Linked DNA regions of Homo sapiens: region 2 is linked to region 1. Evidence: promoter capture Hi-C in 16 types of primary human blood cells and fetal thymus (Javierre and others, 2016). All regions are on one chromosome and are shown on one strand. The core of a region is centred on a gene start or on the middle of the fragment in contact, and the rest is flanking DNA. Distances in the headings are between cores, read along the strand shown. Region 1 holds the start of HAMP (hepcidin antimicrobial peptide). Region 2 overlaps LINC01531 (long intergenic non-protein coding RNA 1531).

Region 1 (7,330 bases), core at 2,642-5,141:
TTTGTAGAGACGGTGTTTCACCATGTTGGCCAGGCTGGTCTTGAACTCCTGACCTCAAGTGATCTGCCTGCCTCAGCCACCCAAAGTGCTGTAGGCATGAATCACCACCCCTGGCCCCTCCCATTCTTGAAAGCTGTATTGCTCTCATTTTCGTTGCCCCATTTTTTTTTTTTTTGACACCAGGTCTTCTTCTGGAACTCCCAGTCTTAAATTATCCTCCTGCCTCAGCCTCCCGAGTAGCAGGGATGGTGCAACTGCACCGGGCTAGAAACTGGGACATTTAAAAGCGTGAGATACACCAGCACACAATCCATTAGCCATCTGGTGATGATGCCAACAGGTGTCGCAGAGCCTCCTGGAAACTCCATTGTATACTCATGAGAGAACCAGGGTGAAAAAGGCAAATAAACATCTTTGTAGGCCGGGCGTGGTGGCTCACACCTGTAATCTCAGCACTTTGGGAGACTGAGACGGGTGGATCACTTGAGGTCAGGAGTTCGAGACCAGCCTGGACAACATGGCAAAACCCCACCTCTACTAAAAATACAAAAATTAGCCAGGTGTGGTGGCACGTGCCTGTAGTCCCAGCTATTCAGGAGGCTGAGGCAGGGGAATCGCTTGAACCTGGGAGGTGGAGGTTGCAGTGAGCCAAGATCATGCCACTGCCCTCCAGCCTGGGTGACACAGAGAGACTCTGCCTCAAAAAAAAAAAAAAAAGAAAGAAAAAAAAGGAAAAAAAAAGGAAAAAAAAAGTCTTAGTAGTTTCCACCTTCAGGAGCCCTACAAAAGGAGTCCCTGGATCTTACTTTGAGAACCTTTATAGCAGTGTCCAATGTTTTGGCTTCCCTGGGCCACACTGGAAGAATTGTCTTGGGCCACACATAAAACACACTAACACTAATGACAGCTGATGAGAAAAAAAAAAATTGCGGAAAAATCTCATAATGCCTTAAGAAACTACAAATTTGTGTTGGGTGCATTCAAAGCCATCCAGGGCTGCATGTGGCCTCCAGGTTGGACAAGCTTGCCTTACAGGCACTGATTTCTACAGCTGTTTTAGGAAGATCTCAAGGAGAGGAAACATTAACTTTCATCCCCTATTATTGCAACATGAAGGGGGAGAACAGAAACAAATTTTCTTCACCAACTTTCCTGGCAACCTCCAGGACACACCAGCCCCACATGACCCACCAAGCACTGGTGCTTGCAAGGCAGGGTCAGGACAAGCTCTTAGCACAGACACTCGGCAGAGAGAAAGGACAACAGACACTCTGGTTTGGAAAACAAAAGAACCAGCCATTTTATTCCAAGACCTATGTTCTGGGGCAGCAGGAATAAATAAGGAAGGGAGGGGACGGGGGCAGGGCAGGTAGGTTCTACGTCTTGCAGCACATCCCACACTTTGATCGATGACAGCAGCCGCAGCAGAAAATGCAGATGGGGAAGTGGGTGTCTCGCCTCCTTCGCCTCTGGAACATGGGCTGTGGGAAGGAAGGGAATGTGAGCAGGGAACCGGCCTTAGCATGGGGAGGGAGCAGGGGGCTAGGAAAGGCATCACTGTTGCGCTCACCATCCAGCTGGCCCTGGCTCCAGCTCTGTCCTGGGGTTGCAGCTCTGCAAGTTGTCCCGTCTGTGAAAGCAGAAGGGGGTGCAGAGGATGGCAGGGGGCCCAGTGGACCTCTGAGACTGGCTCCCGGCAACCTGCTCCTCTCCAAGTGGTTTAAACCCAGAGCTCAAATGGACTCTTAGGAGGGGCCTTGCTTTCTTGCTTCTGCTCACCTTCCCATGGGCGGCTTTTCCTAAAAAAAAAAACCTCCCAGATCCGCCTCCTCCTCTTTCCACAGCTGCTACTCTTCTTTGGGATATCACCTTCCCCTGCCTGGATGCCAGTGCCAGCCTCCTAACACACCTCCCTGCATTCTTGCCCCTCAATCCATTTGCCACACAGCAGAGTCACTTTTTTTGTTTGTTTTTTAGACAGAGTCTTCCTCTGTTGCCCAGGCCAGAGTGCAGTGGCACAGTCATAGCTCCCTGCAGCCTTGACCTCCTGTGCTCAAGCGATGCTCCCGCCTCAGCTTCCCGAGTAGCTGGGACAGCAGGTGCACGCCACCACACCCGGCTAATTTTTTAATTTTTTGTAGAGGTGGGGTCTGGTTGTGTTGCCCAAGCTGGTCTTGAACTCCTGGGCTCAACTGATCTTCCTACCTTGGCCTCCCAAAACTCTGGGATTACAGGTGTGAGCCATGGTGCCTGACTGGCAGATTAAGTTTTTTAAAACATGGCCAGTGAGATTGTGGTTTTCTCCATTTTAAAAACCTACAGGAGGCTGGGCGCAGTGGCTCACGCCTGTAATCCCAGCACTTTGGGAAGCCGAGGTGGGAGAATCACCTGAGGTCAGGAGTTCAAGACCAGTCTGGCCAACATGGTGAAACCCTGTCTCTACTAAAAAAACAAAAATTAGCCGGGCGTGGTGGCAGCCGCCTGTAATCCCAGCTGCTCGGGAAGCTGAGGCAGGAGAATTGCTTGAACCCGGGAGGCGGAGGTTGCAGTGAGCCCAGATGATGCCACTGCACACCAGCCTGAACGACAGAGCGAGACCCTATCTCAGAAAAAAAAAAAAAAGCTTATGGGGGCTTCCTCTTTATTCCAAGGAAAAATCAGTGTCTGCATGGTTGCCCACAAGACTTAGGGACTGCCCACCCCTCAGCCTTATCCCCAAGTCCCACCATCTCCTCTTGTTCAGCCTGACCCTGGGCTATGCTGGCTTGTCCTCTCCTTAGGTCTTTGCTGCCTCCATCTCTCACCCTCCAAGACGAAGGTCAACTGTCACTTTCTCATGAAACACTTGCTTGACTGCCAGCCCCTTGACCATGCCTGTGGTCCCCCAACCCGTGGCATGTGCCTGCTGTCCCAGCTACTTGGGACGCTGAGGTGGGAGGATTGCTTGAGCACAGGAGGTTGAGGCTGCAGTGAACTATGACTGCACCACTGCACTCCAGCCTCAGCAACAGAGGAAGACCCTGTCTCTAAAAAACAAACCAAAAAAGTGACTCTACTGTGTGGCGAATGGGTCACGGTCACTCTACCACTGTCTGTTATGAGATTCACGAATAGAATGTACTAGACACAATTATTTATTCATGTTTTCATCAGTCTTTAACAAATTCCCTGACCAGGATGGAGAAATCTCCTCTCTCATCTACCTTGTTCATGGCCTCGTCCCCACTGTCTAGAATAAGACTCCACACGGCGTAGGGGTTCCGTAAATACCCATGGAATTAGGACCTTCCAGTCCCTGTCACTCGGTGCTTCATTGATTTCTGTTCTTTTTTGGAGATGGAGTCTTGCTCTGTTGCCAGGCTGGAGTGCAGTGGTGCAATCTCAGCTCACTGTGCAACCTCCACCTTGCGGGTTCAAGCAATTCTCCTGCCTCAGTCTCCCGAGTAGCTGGGATTACAGGCACCTGCCACCAAGCCTGGCTAACTTTTGTATTTTTAGTAGAGACGGGGTTTTACCATGTTGGCCAGGCTGGTCTCAAACTGACCTCAAGTGGGCTGCCTGCCTCAACCTCCCAAAGTGCTGGGATTACAGGCATGAGCCACCGTGCCTGTCCTGGTTCCTGTTCAGCTGCCAGTACTCCTGAGACGTCCTGAGCTCTGCTCAGTGCTCGGGTGTCTCCAGTGCCCTAGGCTGAGGCCTGGCTCTCCCATCCCTGCTGCCCTGCTAAGGACCCAGGCCACTGGGCTCTCACCTGTTGTGGGAAAACAGAGCCACTGGTCAGGCTGGCGAGGAGGAGGAGGAGCAGGAGGCAAGCGGCCCAGATCTGGGAGCTCAGTGCCATCGTGCCGTCTGTCTGGCTGTCCCACTGCTGGGTCTTGAGCTTGCTCTGGTGTCTGGGACCGAGTGACAGTCGCTTTTATGGGGCCTGCCAGGGGAGGCGGTGGTCTGAGCCCCCTCCCCTTTGCTCTGTCTCATTTCCAAGAAGGTGGTGGCGCCGAAAAGGCGGGAGAGATAAGCGGGAACAGAGCGACAGGGAACAGGGTTGTGTCACCCTCAGCCGGCAGAGGTGTGTTCAGGGGGTGGGGCAGACGGGGTCACAGACACACACTGCTCACCAGCCATCTGGGGAGCCCTTTCCCCATCACGATGTCATTCTGCTGATCGGGAAAAAAGTTCCCCCTTTTGCTTCAGCGGTTAAGCAGTTTGATGAGCAGAATCAAGGTTCCGCTCTCCTCCACTCACTTCCCCATCGCCTACATGCACACGGGGCATGGCCAGCAGCCGCCAGGCTCCTCAGGAGTGTCTGGCATGTTGGGGGAAGCATCCATTGCTTTAAGCTCTCACCACACGTGCATAGGTTCTGGCAGGGAACACTAGATAGCCCTGAGCAGGGCAAGCATCAGCGTGTGCCCGATCCGCACGTGGTGTTTTCCCAGTGTCAGACCCTTGAGATGTGGCTCTGGTAACTGGAAAATGTTTGAGCAAACTTTTGGCCATAAATGACAGCAGTAATATGGCCCAGCACAGTGGCTTATGCCTGTAATCCCAGCAATTTGGGAGGCCAAGGCAGGAGGGTCGCTTGAGCCCAGAAGTTCAAGACTAGCCTGGGCAACATAGGGAGACCCCATCTCTACAAAAAAAATTTTAAACAAATTTAGCCAGGCGTGGTGGCACACATCTGTAGTCCCAGCTACTTGGGAGGCTGAGGCAGATCGCTTAAGCCCAGGAGGCTGAGGTTGCAGTGAGCTATGATTGTGTGACTGCACTCCAGCCTGGGTGACAGAGTGAGACCCTGTCTATAAAACATAAAATAGCAGTAATAGTAATAGCTAACATCTACAGTCCGATGAGTACATTTTATACGATGGCACATATGTTGACTCACTTCTGCACCAACTCAGCCTGTGCTGCCTGTTCTCCCAGCAGCACTTACTGCCCCACCTTCAGCTCTGCTCTGTATTCAGGGGCTGCCTTCTCAGTCACCCAACCCCAGAGGCCTGGGCTCCCCAGACCCTGCTCCCTTTTAGGAACCTCCTCCCCGTCGGACACTCATTTCCTTCACTTTACAGAAAAGGCACTGAAGGCAGAGATCAGGGCATGGCCCAAGCTTGCTCAGCCAGAGGCAGAGCTGAGATTCTAGCCTGGACAGCCTGACTCCAGGGCTTTTGCTCTTACCCACCAGGTTTCCCCATCTCCCCTAAAACACAGCAGGGCACAGCGGTATGCTAGACCTGGCTCAACATAGCAGACCATGCACATCTCGAAACTCTGCATTCAGTGGCATCATGCTGGTATCCTGAAATCAGCAGCAGTGGGAGTCTTGACACCCAGAAATTGGCAAGCACTACAAGCCAGGGATGTTTTTGGGGAGCCGGTTCCTTAGGACACCACTAGCTGGGGGATGAACCCAGGCTGCCTGACTGCAGTGCCTTCATTCCTTTCCACTACCAGGCCCAGCTCAGGGTGCACACGGCCCAGGGGATCAACAAACCTTGGTTCCAGATGGGCCCTTGCACATTTTGCCTCTTTGCCTTTTTCATTCCAGGGCCATCCAGTGTCAGCCAAGTCACCAGAGCCCGGGGATGTTGTTGTCGAGGAATGAACACTTCTTCCTGGTTGCTGAACCACTTTCAAGGCCCACTCAAGCACAGAAATGCACAGGCCCTGCCATCTGCCTCCTCATCCACACCACGTGGGAGGCTCCTCTTGTCACAGCCTGGGTAACAAAGCGAGACCCCATCTATACAAAAACTTGGCTGTGGTGCTACGCACCTGTAGTTGGTCAAGGCTGCAGTGAGCCGTGATTGTGTGCCACTGCACCCCAGCCTGGGTGAGAGTGAAACCCTGTCTCTAAAAACTAAATGAATAAAGATGGCCTCAGATGGGAATAGCTAGGAAAAGGAGACAGGGCTCTTGTGGGAAGAGACGAGTGCAGGGAGTGGGGGAATTGGGGAGGAAAGGCAGATGGAGCTCCACAAGGTGAGCAGAGTGGCAAGCCCAGCTCCTGGGAGTTGAAGGGTGCTGCAGGCTGAAGCAGGGCCCAGTGAATAGGGGTGTGCTCACCTGGGGAGACACAGGAGCAGCCCCCAGCCCTACCAGGCATCGCTGCATCTCAGCTGAGGACAGGTTTCATCATCAGCAGGGGCAGGGGTCACAGCACAGGCGCCAGAGCCTTGGTGCAAGGCGACAGGCTGACGGGCCAAGCTTGGCGCCCTGGCCATCTGCCCTCCCTGGGGGTGAGGGGCTCAAGGCCAGGCCCCACTATTGGCTGGTGCAGAGGGGAGGGCTTTGGCCCAGCAGGGCAGGGCCAGGGGCTGGTTGTGTTTTCAGGAACTGTTGACACGGAGACCCCTGCCTCTCCTCCAACATGGGACATGTCCTTGACCCCAGCTCCCCACACCCTCATGCACGTCTAGGGCCTCAAAGGGGACATTCATTCCTTAATTCCTCCATCCATCCAACCAACCACTGGGTAATGGGTGGTGCAGCTGGCAGGGACCATGCACAGCCATGTGCACAACAGCAGAACCATGCCTCGTGGAGCTCTGCAGACCCCAGGCCCCCTCCCCACTCCTGAGATGGACAAACACACAAGCAGACAAGGCGGGGGCCACATGGGGCCAGTTTATTGCAGTTAAATACCTCTCTCTCTATTTTTTTTTTGTCAATTTTTCCATAAAGAAAATTAAAACACACACACACACCCCCAAAGGGGAGCAGGGACCCAGAAACAAGAGGTGGGGTGGGACGTGGCCTCCCTGCATAGGTCCAGGCCCCGGGTGGCCCCCCAAAGGCTCCCCTCCTTCCCATCAGCACCCTGTCTCAGTACCTCCAGAGAGCAGGAGGCAGCGGGACGTGGCAGGGCCTCTGTCCCCTCCCTCTTGCCTCCAGGTGAGACCACTAGAAGTGCCGGGGCTTAGTGAGGGCCGGGAGAAGGGCGACAGACAGACGGATGGGCAGGGAGGATACCGTTTCCAAGTGGAGGAGGGCGGTGGGCACTGTATCCACAGAAATGCATTATTTCTCCCCGTTTTTTGTTAAAAATCTACTATAAAAAAACGCAGCTGGGGGAGGGGCATGTGTCCCTCTCTGTGCTAAGGGCTGGGGAAGGGGGCAGCAGAGGCCGGCGTGGGCGGCGGCGGCTGCGTGGTGGTGGCGGGCGTCACTGCCGGGTGCCCTCGCCCACCATCTCCAGGTTGTGCTGCTGCAGCTGGGCTCGAAGCAGGGCGTTCTCATTCTTCAGCTCCTCGATCTGGCGGACACGACGGAGGTCAAGGGAGCTGAGGGCCAGCGCCTTGCATCTGGGGCTCCTGGGCCCTGACCCGCTCCA
Region 2 (7,330 bases), core at 2,459-4,958, 130 kb before region 1:
TGAAGAGGACCTTGGCAGCTTTTACTGAAATGGAGAATGCAAATGCTGTGCCTACCAGTGGAAGAACTCTTCCACGTGTGCGCGAAGAGACACACACAGGGATGTTCAAAGCAGCATTGTCATGCTGGCAAAGAATGGGAAGTGATTTAAATGTCTATCAATAGTAGAATGGAAAAAATAAAACTCGTCTTATTAATATGATGGACTGCTAGAGCAGACAAAATAAATCAATGAGATATGTAAGGTTTAGTGATGGAGGCCAGATAGCAAAGGGATGATTTGGGGTAGAAAGTAGCTAGTTGCAGAATGACTTGTACTATAGGTATTTATGGATATTTGAAAAAACGCAAAAGAATACTAAACAGTGTTTAGGTGCAAAGTATATTTGCAAGGTACAATTTAAAATCATGGACAGGAAGGATGCACTTAAAGTCCAGTATGACGCTGCCTCTGATGAAGAAGGTAGGAGATTCAGTGAGAGAGAAGCATAATGGGAACATCAATCACAAAAATCTAAAGAAATACGACTCAGTGTTGGCTGGTGCAGTGGCTCACGCCTGTAATCCCAACACTTCGGGAGGCCGGGGTGGGCTGATCAACTTGAGGAGGTCAGGAGTTTGAGACCAGCCTGGCCAACATGGTGAAACCCCATTTCTACTAAAAATACAAAAATTAGCCAGGTGTGATGGTGTACACTCGTAATCCCAGCTACTCAGGAGGTTGAAGAGGGAGGATCACTTGAACCCGGGAGGCGGAGGTTGCAGTGAGCTGAGATCATGCCACTGCACCCCAGCCTGGACAACAGAGCGAGACACTCTAAATAAATGTCTCACAAAACTCAATAGTAAAACAAAACACAATCAAGCAATTCAATTAGAAAATGGGCAAAAGGCTAATCTTTAGAACAAGGATGAGCATAAAGCAATGAATATACAGGCTTGTGCAGAGCAATTACATTATGTCCATCTCAGCTTCAAACTTGCTTTAAGCTAAGGAAGGAGAATATTTGGTTTTCAAATCTAAAAATCCCCAGAGTAGATCTGCTTTAGGACATCAAATGCCTGAATGTGTGGTTTTTCTCTGTTTCACCTTCCTTTAAGTTGACTTCAGGCTTAGGCAGCCTCTCTTCACAATGGCCCCCAGAAGAGAGGGACCAGCCTTCAAGTTCAAGATCAGTAGAAGAGAGGTTCTTTCTCCTGGTGGTTAAAAGAGAAGGGCTGGCCAGGTGCGGTGGTTCATGCCTATAATCCCAGCACTTTGGGAGGCCAAGGTGGGTGGATCATGAGGTCAAGAGATCGAGACCATCCTGGCCAACATGGTGAATCCCCGTCTCTACTAAAAATACAAAAATTAGCTGGGCGGGGTGGTGCGCGCCTCTAGTCCTAGCTACTCAGGAGGCTGAGGCAGGAGAATTGCTTGAACCTGGGAGGCAGAGGTTGCAGTGAGCCAAGATTAACGCCACTGCACTCAAGCCTGGTGAGACTCTGTCTCAAAAAAAAAAAAAAAAAAAAAGGCTGGATCCACAGTGGGTGCACTCTGTCACCCAGGCTGGAGTGTGCAGTGGCATGGTCTTGGCTCACTGCAACCTCCACATCCCGTGTTCAAGTGATTCTTCCGCCTCAGCCTCCCAAGTAGCTGGGATTACAGGTGTGCACCACCACGCCCAGCTCATTTTTGTATTTTTAGTAGAGACAGGGTTTCGCCAAGTTAGCCTGGCTGGTCTCAAACTCCTGACCTCAACTGATTCGCCTGCCTCAGCCTTCCCATGTGCTGGGATTACAGATGTGAGCCACCATGCCCAGCCTGGGTTCATCTTTCATTGGTCTGGATTGAGTCATGCACCCAAGTGTGAACCATCACTGTGGTCAGAGGATGAACTGTAGATGAGCAGGGTCCTGGTTTCACACCTGCCCCTGGAGCAGGAGCTGGGGGTAAAGTCAGCTCCACCAAACCACATGGCAGAGGACAAGGGAGAGATGTTGCTAAGAAGGCCAAACCAATCGGTGCCATCTCTGATTGCTGGTTCATTTTTGAAAAGAGACTGTAGAGAATGTTATGATAAAATTGCAATCCTCAGGGTCCAACAATCAGTACACTCTTCCACCCCTTCCTCTTGTGTTTTTTTTTTTTTTTTTTGGTTGTTGTTTGCTTTAGACGGAGTGTCTGCTCTTGTTGCCCAGGTTGGAGTGCAATGGCATGATTTTGGCTCACTACAGCCTCTGCCTCTTGGATTCAAGTGATTCTCCTGTCTCAGCCTCTCAAGTAGCTGGGATTACAGCTGCACACCACCACGCCCAGCTAATTTTTATATTGTTAGTAGAGATGGGGTTTTGCCATGTTGGCCAGGCTGGTCTTGAACTCCTGGCCTCAGGTGATCTGCCTGCCTCAGCCTCCCAAAGTGCTGGAATTACAGGCATGAGCCACCATGCCCGGCACACCCCTCCCTCTTATCACTGTGTCCCACCCCTAGGAGCAGGACTTCCCCAAGGTCATTGAGAGTAACATTGTAAATGGTGGCATCTTGAGCCCATCTTTAGGAGAAAGGTCTCCCATAAGTTTACAGAAATCAAGTGACCTAACGTCACATCACAGTCCCTTTCTGGTGGACACTCACTCTCCCCACCATTAACCTGAAAACCGGAGAGGGCTGAAGGAGCCTTGCCGGTAACCTTCAAACTTCCATTCCTCGCTTAACACAATGCCTCAGGAACCATTTATTTACCGGGAGGTGCAATGGAACTAGTTGAATCGCCCTAGCTTATATTAACTAGGTGCTATCAAGTAGTCTAACAGTAAAATTGAGGCTTTCACAAAGGCTTTGTGAATTCCCCCGTTCAAAATAAAACACACTAAGCCTGTTTATAACTTTTGCCCTGAAAATCTTTCTTTAATCTTTGCTGACAGGAATTAAATATGCACTTTCCCTAGGATGACATAGGACAAATATAATTAGTATTATGCTTTCCTTCTCCCCCAGTTCCTATAGCCTCTAAGATTGGAAATCCTACATATAGTTTGGGTTAATATTCCACCTAATTGTAGATGAAGTAATCCTTCCCCATAAAACAAGAAGAAAAACTCCAATTTAAACAATCCTTAGGCCAGGCGCGGTGGCTCAAACCTGTAATTCTAGCACTTTGAGAGGCTGAGGTTGATGAATCACTTGAGGCCAGGAGTTCAAGACCAGCCTGGCCAACATGGTGAAACCCCATCTCTACTAAAAATACAAACATTTGCCAGGTGTGGTGGCGCATGCCTGTAATCCCAGCAACTCGGGAAGCTGAGGCATAAGAATTGCTTGAGCCTGGGAGGCGGAGGTTGCAGTGAGCCAAGCTCATGCCACTGCACTGCAGCAGTCTGGGTTACAGAGCGAGACTCTGTCTCAAAAAAAAAAAAAAAAAAAAAAAAAAAGCATCTTTAGAACAGGAACTAACATAACATGGTGAATACAGGTCTGTGCGGCGCAATTACATCCCATCCATCTGAGCCGGCTTTGTTACTTCTTTATCTCCTCATGGAATAGTTCTGATTGTTAAGTATCATATTTAATATCTCAACAAGCTTTGCATTTTATCAGGCAAACTTTAAACTCACTTTGAGAGGTTAAGTGGCATTAGACTTTATGAAATTTCGAATCATTAAAGACACATCAGGTAGCAGAAGGTTTTATATGTGCACAATTGCACTTAGCAGAGTAATCCTGTCTGTCATCTCACCAGGTCAGCAATTCTCAAACTTGTGGATCTCAAGGTCGGTTTATACTCTTGAAAATTACTGAAGGGATGGGTGTGGTGGCTCACCCCTCTAATCCCAACACTTTGGGAGGCTGAGGCAGGTGGATTGCTTTAAGCTTAGGAGTTTGAGACCAACCCGGGCAACATGGCAAAACCCCATCTCCACAAAAAATACAAGAATTAGCTGAGCATGGTGGCGTGCACCTGTAGTTCCAGCTACTTGGGAGGCTGAGGTGGGAGGGTTGCTTGAGCCTGGGAAGACGAGGCTGCAGTGAGTTGTGTTCATGCCACTGCACTCACCCTGGGTGGCAGAGTGAGACACTGTCTCGAAAAAAAAAAGAAAAAAGAAAAAAAAGGAAAGAAAAGCAAAAATGAAAATTCCTGCCAGGCGTGGTGGCTCATATCTATAATCCTAGGACCTTGGGAGACTGAGGTGGGCAGATCATGAGGTCAGGAGTGCGAGACCAGCCTGACCAACATGGTGAAACCCTGTCTCTACTAAAAATACAAAAATTAGCCGGGCATGGTGGCTTGTGCCTGTAATCTCAGCTACTTGGGAGGCTGAGGCAGGAGAATCGCTTGAAGCCAGGAGGCAGAGGTTGCGGTGAGCCGAGATCACACCACTGTACTCCAGCCTTGGCAACAAGAGTGAAACTGCGTATCAAAAAAAACAAAAAAAAAAAACAAAAAAAAAACAAAGTTAAAACAGAAAAATTTAAAAATGTGTATTAACTTATCTTATAATAATAATAACCATAAAACCATTACATGTTAATATAAATGACACGTTCCTAGAAAAAACAACTATATCTTCAAAAAATTCGTGACAGTGGCATTGTTTTACATTTTTGCAGATCTCTTTAATGCCTGGCTTAATAGAAGACAGCTGTATTTTCCTATCTGGTCTGCATTCATTCCGTCATGATATCACGTCACGTAGCTCTCAAAACCTCCACTGTGCACATTATTTGTGAGATAATGAAGGTGAAGAGAGCAATCAGCATTTTAATAGCATTATGAATAGTTTTGACCTCACAGACAGTGCTTTGAAAACTGCTGCCCTAGATTCACATAGTTCGAAGCTACTTGGGTTGGGTTTTCCTTGATGTGTGGTATTAAAGGGAAGAAGGAAGGGAGGGAGGGAGTAACTCATTGAGGAACTCCTACCATCTTACAGTGTTTAAAATAACCACTAAATAATGGAAACAGAACATACAGTTTCCAAGTCAGTGGAGGAATAAATGAAATGAGAAAGAAAAGAAATAAACGAACTGAATCTCAAAAGAAGGCTAGAGAGAAGAAAAAAAGAAATATTAAAAGGTGAGGGATGGCTTGGCAAGGTGGCTCACACCTGTAATACCAGCACTTTGGGAGGCCGAGGTGGTTGGATCACCTAAGGTCAGCAGTTCAAGACCAGCTTGGTCAACATGGTGAAACCCCGTCTTTAATAAAAATGCCAAAATTAGCCAGGCATAGTGGCACACACCTGTAATCCAAGCTACTTGGGAGGCTGAGGCACGAGAATTGCTTGAACCCAGGAGGTGGAGGTTGCAGTGAGCTGAGATCATGCCGTTGACTTCAGCCTGGGCAACAGAGTGAGACTGTGTCTGAAAATAAAATAAAATAGAATAAAATAAAATAAAATAAAATAAAATAAAAGATGAGGGAAATAAAAAGCACAAAATAATATGGTAGACTTTTTGCTTTTTCTTAAATAGGTGTGTTCACTCTGTGATATTTGTGATAGTTTATTTGGCCTGTACACTTATTATTTGGCCATGCATGGTGATATGGTTTGGCTGTGTCCCCACCTAAATCTCATCTTGAATTGCAGTTCCCATAATCCCAAGTGTCATGGGAGGAACCAGGTGGGAGGTAATTGAATCATGGGGTGGGTTACCCTCATGCTGTTCTCCTGATAGTGAGTGAGTTCTCACGAGATCTAATGGTTTTATCAGATGGCTTCTCCCATTTTGCTCTGCACTTCTTGCTGCTGCCATGTGAAGAAGGACCTGTTTGCTTTCCCTTCCACCATGATTCTATGTTTTCTGAGGCTTGCCCAGCCCCGTGGAACTGTGAGTCAATTAAACCTCTCTTCTTTGTAAATTACCCAGTCTCGGGTATGTCTTTACTAGCAGCGTGAGAATGGACTAATACACACGGTATGCATGTATATTTCAATATATGTGCACATACTTCACTAAAAGTATTTAAAATAAGATGACAGAGATAAATTCAAATATATTGGAAATTATTATTTTATAACTATAAATGGACAAAATGGTACAGTTAAAAGACAAATATTGTCCAGTTGTCAGACCAGATTACAAAAAAATCCAACCACTCTATACACTGCTTAGGAAAAGCACATTTAAAACATAAAGATATAGCAAGGTTGAATGTAGAAGGATGGACAGAGATGGACTGGCAAATAATAAGCAAAAACCAAGTTGATGTGGCTCTGTTAATATCAGACAAAATCAATGTTAAGGCAGAAAGAATTTTGAAAGTTTCAATTCACCAGGGAGACAGAACTACAAGGAGAAATAGGCAAATTTACCATGATAGAAGGAGCATGTAACACACCTCTTCATATAACTGATAGATTAAATAGATGAAAATGTATATAAAGGTTATGAAGATTTGAACATCATAAATTAACAAGTTTGATCTAAGGTATATACAGAGAACATAGCACCCAACAATTACAGAATCTATCTTCTTTTCATTACTGGAATACTAGAATACTGTTTATATTCTAAGCCAAAAAACAATTCTCAGCAAATTTCAAAGAACTGATACCATTGAAACAATACTCTGTAGTTAGAAATGAATAACAAAAGGATAAAGGGGGGAAACATCTGTGTTTGAAAATTAAGGTACATTTCCAAAGTCAAGAGTCAAATAAAAAAATCCCATGGAATTTGGAGCCTATTTAGAACTCAAAATAATGAGAATGCTGCAAATCAAAACTTGTGACATCCCACTAAAGCTGTTCTTAGAGGGAAATCTATCCAACACACTAAATGCTTACATTAGCAAAGAAGAAAGGCTAAAATGAACGAGCATCCAAGTTAACATGTTAGAAAAGGAGCAACAGAGAAGACTCAATAAAGTAAAAGGAAGGAAACAATAAAGATAAGATTAGAAATCAATGCAACAAGAAAACAAAGATAAATGCTGGAGAGGATCTTGGTTTTCTGAAAAGACAAATTAATGGGTCTCTTGGCAAGACTGAGAAAGGAAAAAAGAAGGCACAAACACAGTAGGATGTAACCACTCAAAAGTATCATGACCTGTTTCTTCCCATCACGTGGACTCTGCTCCGAAGGACAGTTGCTTTTCTTGCCTGGTTTGTCCACCTGTGCCAGCCACTGCTTTGTTTCGGGTGCCGGTCCTTTGAGTCCACATGCAGGCTCCTGCCTTGCTCCCCAGACTTGCCTGTGCTGGGTTGTTCAGATCCAGCATGAGGAACCCCCTTTTCTGAATCGGGGCCAAGGATAGAATTAAGAGCTCTGCAGCAGATAAGTCAGTGCTACTGTCTTCTAGATATAGAGTAGGGAAGATAAAGAATTCCAAGACTCTGATATTACAAG

What was found. The method cuts DNA at HindIII sites, captures the fragments that hold promoters and counts their contacts. A CHiCAGO score of 5 or more calls a contact.
Region 2: a contact is called between a fragment that was not itself captured here and the fragment with the promoter of HAMP in region 1, in 2 of 17 cell types (monocytes and total B cells). The highest score is 6.4, in monocytes.

What each region holds. Positions count from the first base shown.
Region 1 is chr19:35,279,089-35,286,418 of GRCh38, reverse strand. HAMP (hepcidin antimicrobial peptide) reads right to left here and starts at 3,891. Exons shown (of 3, transcript NM_021175.4): 1 at 3,752-3,891; 2 at 1,571-1,630; 3 at 1,276-1,481. The coding sequence starts at 3,841. The coding sequence ends at 1,377. USF2 (upstream transcription factor 2, c-fos interacting) reads right to left here. Exons shown (of 10, transcript NM_003367.4): 10 at 6,598-7,252. The coding sequence ends at 7,163. RefSeq lists enhancers at 3,520-4,029, 5,416-5,465, 5,556-5,635, 6,075-6,219, 5,726-6,225 and 1 more and a cis regulatory region at 6,141-6,154. The HindIII fragment of the contact is 2,484 bases long and covers 2,626-5,109 here.
Region 2 is chr19:35,409,173-35,416,502 of GRCh38, reverse strand. LINC01531 (long intergenic non-protein coding RNA 1531) reads right to left here. Exons shown (of 5, transcript NR_040046.1): 3 at 7,031-7,217; 4 at 5,221-5,341; 5 at 1-24. It also overlaps the pseudogene RN7SL491P. Among named protein-coding and RNA genes, the nearest start is that of LINC01531, 7.2 kb to the right of the region's middle. The HindIII fragment of the contact is 289 bases long and covers 3,564-3,852 here.